Linked DNA regions of Homo sapiens: region 2 is linked to region 1. Evidence: promoter capture Hi-C in human tissues and cell types (Jung and others, 2019). All regions are on one chromosome and are shown on one strand. Each heading gives the region's core, a stretch centred on a gene start or on the middle of the fragment in contact. The rest is flanking DNA. Distances are from core to core; before and after follow the strand shown.

What was found. The method cuts DNA at HindIII sites, captures the fragments that hold promoters and counts their contacts. A contact is called where the count stands out against the background at its distance.
Region 2: a fragment that was not itself captured here is called in contact with the fragment with the promoter of PTX3 in region 1 in 1 of the 25 tissues and cell types used here (dorsolateral prefrontal cortex).

What each region holds. Positions count from the first base shown.
Region 1 is chr3:157,434,686-157,438,541 of GRCh38, forward strand. PTX3 (pentraxin 3) reads left to right here and starts at 2,165. Exons shown (of 3, transcript NM_002852.4): 1 at 2,165-2,378; 2 at 2,828-3,229. The coding sequence starts at 2,249. The region is part of intron 4 of VEPH1 (ventricular zone expressed PH domain containing 1); the gene reads right to left. The HindIII fragment of the contact is 4,814 bases long and covers 215-3,856 here.
Region 2 is chr3:158,575,754-158,579,609 of GRCh38, forward strand. All of the region lies in intron 1 of MLF1 (myeloid leukemia factor 1), which reads left to right. Among named protein-coding and RNA genes, the nearest start is that of MLF1, 6.5 kb to the left of the region's middle. The HindIII fragment of the contact is 3,302 bases long and covers 539-3,840 here.

The DNA of each region.
Region 1 (3,856 bases), core at 915-3,414:
GTATATTTTGATTTAATTTTAGCAAATAATATTGTACTTTTAACTTATCCTTCTCTGTGCTTTTCTTTCCTCCTTCATTAATTTTTTTTTCATAGATCAAGTCTTTCTTTAAAAATTCCCCCTGCACCTTCTATTCGGATGCCTATGTCCATTTGGTAGTTGTCCTTAAACTTATAACAAATATTTTTGAGCAAAGCAAAATTAATTAATTTCTTTTTCGTCCTCCTGAACAATGAAATGATTTTAGAATCCTATTACTGAACATAAAAGCAGCACATTTTAGATTATTTCCTTATATCTGTCTTCCAGTTCATTAATATTCTTTTCAGCTTTGCCTAATTTGCCACTTAATCCATGCCTTGAGCTTTTAAAATTTTCAATTAACTTTTTTTTTTAATTCTAGAAGTTTTATTTGGTTCTTTAAAAAAAATCACCTAGCCTTTTTCTTTTTGACAATGTCTTATTCTTTTCTCATATTTCCAATTCCTTCTTTTAGAGCTTCAGTAGTTTTAAACATATTTATTTTCTAGTTTTTTGGCTGATATTTCAACTAAATGCAGTTCTTGGGGAGAGGTGTCTAATCCTTTTTGGTTTCTGCTGATTCTCATTTATAGTGGTTTGCTTCCTCATATGTTCAAATATCATTGTGAATTCTTTTTTGTTTTCACAGTGGCAGATAGTATATATTTGAATTCTAAACATATCTGAGGGCAGGCCCAATTTCACAAACTCAAAGGGACCTTGTAGAGTTCAAAGAGAGACATGATTGCTTCCTACCTCTTTGTGCTAGGGCAGAGTGGGATTGTACCTACTGAAATACAGTAGGTAACCCTGTGAGGGTCCTGGCTTTCATGAGGATCTCCCTTCTAACTCTCCACCTTTGGCCTAAGCTTTGCTTCCACATGGTCATCAACATTTGGTGGTTATAGAACTAATAACCCCTATCTCACTTCACTCCTATGCCAGAGGGGCCCTAGCATCAGCTCATGGGATTGTTGTTTTTGCTTTCCTCTCTATCTTTGGCTCCGGGATTTTCCCCTTACTTTAATGGGAGCTCATCTGTACCTTTTAAGTTTTTATTAATATCATGTGAACACAGACCTGTATATATTGTTAGAAGCAGAAATCTCTAAGTTTACTTTTAAAACATGATCCTTGCCTCGAAACCTTGTAGAATAATATAATGTCCACATAATACCAAGTTATGAAAAGAAACATACCTAAATAACTAAATAAGTATATTCCTTTTTTCCCCCAGCTTTTTTTCCCCATTCTAGGTTTACCCAGTTGTACTGTGTTGTTTGTCATAGGCCGGGTGAGGTGGCTCACGTCTGTAATCCTAGCAATTTGGGAGGCGAAGGCGGGTGGATCGCCTGAGGTCAGGAGTTCGAGACCAGCCTGGCTAACATGGTGAAACCCTGTCTCTACTAAAAATACAAAAATTAACTGGGTGTGGTGGCGGGTGCCTGTAATTCCAGCTACTTGGGAAGCTGAGGTAGGAGAATCGCTTGAACCCAGGATGCGGAGGTTGCAGTGAGCCGAGATCACACCATTGCACTCCAGCCTGGGCAACAAGAGCGAAATTCAGTCTCAAAAAAAAAAATTATCTATAAAAGTATAGGTGCAACTCCTCAAGTATTAAAGACAAGATAGCTCGGATTGGACTTGACTTTCAGAGCCATAACTATTCTTAATATGTTGGTTTATCTTGGAATCAGACCATTTTCAGTTTCAACCTGTAAAACAGTGTACAAAGGAAACATGGAAAGTTTTCTATATATAAAGGGTTGTGAAATAATAACAGCTCACAGAAAATGCTGAAATGATGATTTGCTTCAGTACCCTCTGAAATTTCTCCCCTACCACCCCTCCTTCATCCCCATTGCTATCAATTCAAATTACAACAGCTAATTCTCAGGAGAACAGTAGAAGCCCAGTTTCTCTCCTCTTTCCCCTCTGACCCTCCTCCAATTAATCTGACTGCAGCGTAAACCTTTGCGGTTTAATATTGTGCAACTTCCACATTTCCCTCGCTCTCCCACCCAGCCCCCTCCCCCACCAAATTCAGGGGAACTCCCGTTACCGCAGTGCCACCAGCATTACTCATTCATCCCCATTCAGGCTTTCCTCAGCATTTATTAAGGACTCTCTGCTCCAGCCTCTCACTCTCACTCTCCTCCGCTCAAACTCAGCTCACTTGAGAGTCTCCTCCCGCCAGCTGTGGAAAGAACTTTGCGTCTCTCCAGCAATGCATCTCCTTGCGATTCTGTTTTGTGCTCTCTGGTCTGCAGTGTTGGCCGAGAACTCGGATGATTATGATCTCATGTATGTGAATTTGGACAACGAAATAGACAATGGACTCCATCCCACTGAGGACCGTAAGTTCACTTTAACTGTTTCTCTGCTAACCCTGACTACATATCCACCTCTTGGTCTAAATAACACACATATACTTTGTGGCCAGTGAGACAAGTTAAAAATTTATAGCTTGTTATGCAAAAGTGAGAAGCACTTGAAGAAAGATGGAGGTTTCAAAGTTATTTCTGTAACGTACATAATGGGTTGAATCATATCAAATCGTCAATATTTGACTGTTTTGAGCTACATAACCGGCGATTTCATAGGGTACAACTTAATCTATACCTGAATGAATGATTTCTGTCGTTTCTGAGACATTTACATGCTGTTTTTCGGAGGTGTCCTTAAAGGGAAGGGGAATGCCAGGAACGGGCTGCAACTTGGCACCACCGAGGGAGGTCAGCTTTTACAAAGCACATCCAAGGCAGGCCTGGGCGGGCTGCTAACGTGTGTGTATCCCGTACTCTAGCCACGCCGTGCGCCTGCGGTCAGGAGCACTCGGAATGGGACAAGCTCTTCATCATGCTGGAGAACTCGCAGATGAGAGAGCGCATGCTGCTGCAAGCCACGGACGACGTCCTGCGGGGCGAGCTGCAGAGGCTGCGGGAGGAGCTGGGCCGGCTCGCGGAAAGCCTGGCGAGGCCGTGCGCGCCGGGGGCTCCCGCAGAGGCCAGGCTGACCAGTGCTCTGGACGAGCTGCTGCAGGCGACCCGCGACGCGGGCCGCAGGCTGGCGCGTATGGAGGGCGCGGAGGCGCAGCGCCCAGAGGAGGCGGGGCGCGCCCTGGCCGCGGTGCTAGAGGAGCTGCGGCAGACGCGAGCCGACCTGCACGCGGTGCAGGGCTGGGCTGCCCGGAGCTGGCTGCCGGCAGGTAAGGAGGCAAGCGGGGCCGGGACCTCCCACTGCGGCTTTGTTCCGGGAGCGCGCGTAACGGCAAGCCAAGCCAGGCAACCTTCTAGGGGAAGCTTTCATGGGAAGCGCGCGCGCGCGCGCGCACACACACACACACACACACACACACACACACACCCCTATTTCTGCATGCGCGGTCACAGAGCTCAGGCACACCATACAAGGCGGGAAAATTGGCTTTAAAAAAGTATTCCTCAGTCCTAAGGAGCCCTAAAGAGAGTTGTGGAGGTAACCATCACAGTCTTGAAATAGACGTCTAGGGCCCCTTACACCCGATCCGACTAAGCGCTGCAGGAGTCCACTGGCCCGTTATAACCGTGATCCCTCTTGCCGCCCAGCTTCCCTCCGTTAGGGATTTCCACGTCTTCTAATTTTATCCTGCCTCTGTCTTTAGAGGAGCTCTGGTTTCCCGCACTATTTCAGGGCCCAGGCTAACGTTTAGGGATGTTTTCCAGCCCCTCAGCCGGCCCCTCCTCTCCGCCCACCCATTCTCAGCAAGAAACTTGAGGCTAAAGCTAATCTCCCGAAGGGTCAGCGGAATTCTTCAGGGGTCCCCCAGCCCCCGGGGTTTGTGGAATTAGCGCGA
Region 2 (3,856 bases), core at 940-3,439, 1.1 Mb after region 1:
TAGTTGATTGCTGAAAGTAATTATCATTTGCATTCAACAAATAACATTGTTGATACTGGTATTTTCTAATTAGAACATTACGATTTTCTAAATAGTCCATTAGAGTTGCTTATATTGTTCACAATCAAGGTTATTCAATATAAGCAAACGCTACTGATTTACTAATTATTCAAAAATGGACAAAAATGTATACTTCTTTGATATAAAAATAGAATTACTAGATACTACGATGCTGATAAGGTGCTGTGGTTAAATTGTTAATTGCTTAAAATATTTAAGTAAAAAGTAATTAAAATCTGTAGTTTTGAATTCAAATATATTCAGTTTCAATGTTTACCTTATTATAACAGTGCATCTTAAATGTTTCTTCAGAAAAGTAAAAGGAAATGTTAAAAGTTATATTTTAAAATTTGGTGTTTTATTACATACTTGGGATTTTTAAACTTTGGTATCTCATTATGTCTCAGGGCTGAAGTTATTTCATTGAAAATTTACATTACAGTATATTCAGATATACCTTCTTAAACAATATCTGTTACTTGATTAAAAACACAAAGGTTAAAAGCTAGCACTTCCTGGCATGCAGTTCTCTCAAGAATACTATCTTTCTCTCACATCTGTATTTGCTAACAATATGCATATTGTTAAGTACATATGTATAGACAAGAGGATTTTGAGGTTAAATGGTTTTGGCATCCTGTACCCTAAAAAACATCGATTATGTAGTATGAAAGTTTATAAATATTTAGTACGACCCAGAATTTTCTATTTGATACGAAACAGGAACTGTGAATCTTCTGAGCTACAAAAATGTAATTCTGATCGAGCAAGTCTACAAAGAATAATAACTATGTTACCACTTACCAGCTATTGGAGATAGAAAGCTCAGAAGCAGGCTGGCAAACCTGTCAACCTTAATTTTTTTTTTTTTTTTTTTGAGACGGAGTCTGGCACTGTTGCCCAGGCTGGAGTGCAGTGGTGTGATCTCGCCTCACTGCAACCTCTGCCTCCCAGGTTCAAGTGATTCTCCTGCCTCAGCCTCCTGAGTAGCTGGGATTACAGGCGCACACCACCACACCCGGCTGATTTTTTGTATTTTTAGTAGATACCGGGTTTCACTATGTTGGCCAAACTGGTCTCGAACTCCTGATCTCGTGATATGCTGGCCTCAGCCTCCTAAAGTGCTGGGATACAGGCATGAGCCACCGCACCCAGCCAACCTTAATTTTTAATCATAAATTATTGTTGTCTCTTCTTTAAGCCTCTCAGCTCTCCATATGAGCATCATATATCTGATGACCAGTATTTGGTTAAAGTACTGCATATATTCACAGGATGTTACTTCTTCTATCTCCTTATATGTATAATCTCTATTTTAAAAATTTTTACAAATTTGTATTTATTTTATACTTGGAAGTAGTTGGATTTATTAAAGGACATTGCTTTGTCCTATCCACTGATGGAGTTCAAAGTGAATGTATTCTATGTACAAGATGTGGGTTAACTTTTTTATTGATGGAAAACATTCTCATTGAAGGAAATAAAACCACCTTGTTAAGCTTTTGGAAACAGTATTCAAGGTTACTACTTAAATACTTGTTTAGACGTACAGTCTGAGGTAGAGTCTCTGCCAAATTGTCATAGCTTGGCTCTAGTTAATATTCTGCCACATATACCTCTCATTCTAAACAGTTGATAAAAGTAGCTTGAGAATACTCAGCTAAAATTTAAGTTACTTATTTTCAAGGTCCCACTTTATTCTAAGACCCTGAATACCTACTGTGAAATTACCTAGTATAATTGTTCTTAGGAATATTTTAATATATAAATTTCTTATAAATGAACTTTGCAAATTATAAGATCATATTTGAAAGAATGAGACACTGTAAGCCTTGTGCTGAAAGGATTTCTAAGGTATACTATTCATTTGGGGCATTCTTTGGTTCATGAGGTAAACACCACTGAATTAGGAGCCCAGGAACACAGCATGACTAGGACATGGTTGCTGGGTCAAAAATGCCATACAGTAGCATGTACCCACAAGATAATTCCTACTTCTGCCAATTAATATTGTAAATATCCATGAAAAAGGAGTGAACTATTTATAGAATATCAGGGGAGCATAATCATTTCCACAATTTTTTTGATATCAAAGGCTTTTGCCACACCAACACTTTGTACTTCAAGACAATGGAAAAATAGAATTGCTTAATAAAAATGTAATTCATTCTTTAAATATTTCTTCAGTTTCTACTATAGGCCGAACCCTGTGGGTTCTCTTTTAAATTTTTAGATGTCTTGGTTCCTGCCCTCAAGATCCTTCTTTGAATGTTACATGCATTATTTCTAGTATCAAAACATGGATCTTCTGGTCTATTTTCCTTATAGACCAGTCTACCTCATTGAAACTAGGGAACATTTCTTTATGATCAAGAGAACCATAACCATCTGCTGGCTAAGCTTTTGCCACTACCATGTATAATGGAAGGGAGGAATTTCCCTTAATGAGTGAGCCTGCCATGTCAGTTATCTGAGAACCTTATGTAATAGGTAATGCTCTTTGCTTAGAAGCACAAGTATCTATATTCTTATATAGATGAAAAAGAAGTGTAACTTAGGCAAAATAAGTGTGTGTGTGTGTGTGTGTGTACATATGTATTTGAGAGAGTTTTAAAAACAATAAATTATTCTAAAGGGAGACATTACCAGCCCTTAAACACATGTATGTACGTATGTACATACATACATACAAACACACACACACACACACACACACGTACACACTATGTTGAAATCATTCCCAAGTGACCTGGAATCAATCTAAGAGTTAAGACATAAACACTTTTGAAGGGGAAGTAGGCAACAATTTATTTTTCCTGCCTTGTGATATATGCTGAAGGTAAATAATATAGAATAGAAAAAGTACGTTTGAGACCAAAGTTTATTCAGTTTGGTTGTGGTTTGTGTGAGCAATTCTAAGAGAGGAGGTATATAGTCATCAGTGAGTAAAAGTACATTTTTCTTGACCTAAATGAAAATACATCCTCATGGAAAATCTGAAAAGTATAGAAAGTTTGGTAGCAGAAATAATACAACCCATTATTTTGATGTATTTTGTTTCAGATGTCCACATGTGGATTTTTATTTTCCAAAATTCGGACCACACTTTATGGTTAATTATTCAATGCTTTTCTGCAACATATACCATGAACGTTTTCCTGGTCTTTAGATATTCACTAAAGCATGACTTTAGAGTCTGCAAAATATTGCACCCTATGAACATACAAAGCATATTTCTCACATAAATCTTTAACAACATTTTCAAATTATTACCTTAGACTCTTTGTGTACATGAAATGACTAGTTTGTATAGCATGACCTTTTTAAAACCTCCTATTTCCAATTTGTTTTCCTAGAAGAATGAAATTTTATTTTCAAAAGAGAACATTATGAATGGGCTAAAATTTTTCATTTGAGAAAAAAAGCCTAGGTTAATTTTAAAAATATTAAAACAACTGTGTGCTACCATAGAATTTTTTTAGTTTTGATAAAAGTGAATTCAAACTTGGACAAGAGAAACATTAAAGCCTTATCTCCAAGCAGCTGCCTTTCTGGGTAGACATGAATTAAACTCACTAGAAGTTTCAGCCAGATTTCTTCCTGAATGGTTCAGACAGTTGCAAACACCAGACTATAGGCTCGCTTTTGTTTAGTGCATCTTCCAACAGGCAGTCATTTGTTCATGTCACTCAGAAAGATAAAATTTTTAGCATTTGCTGAACATACACATATTCAAATAAACATTTAAATATTCCCCTACTTCTATATAAAGAAAGAAAAACCCAGGCAAATTTTA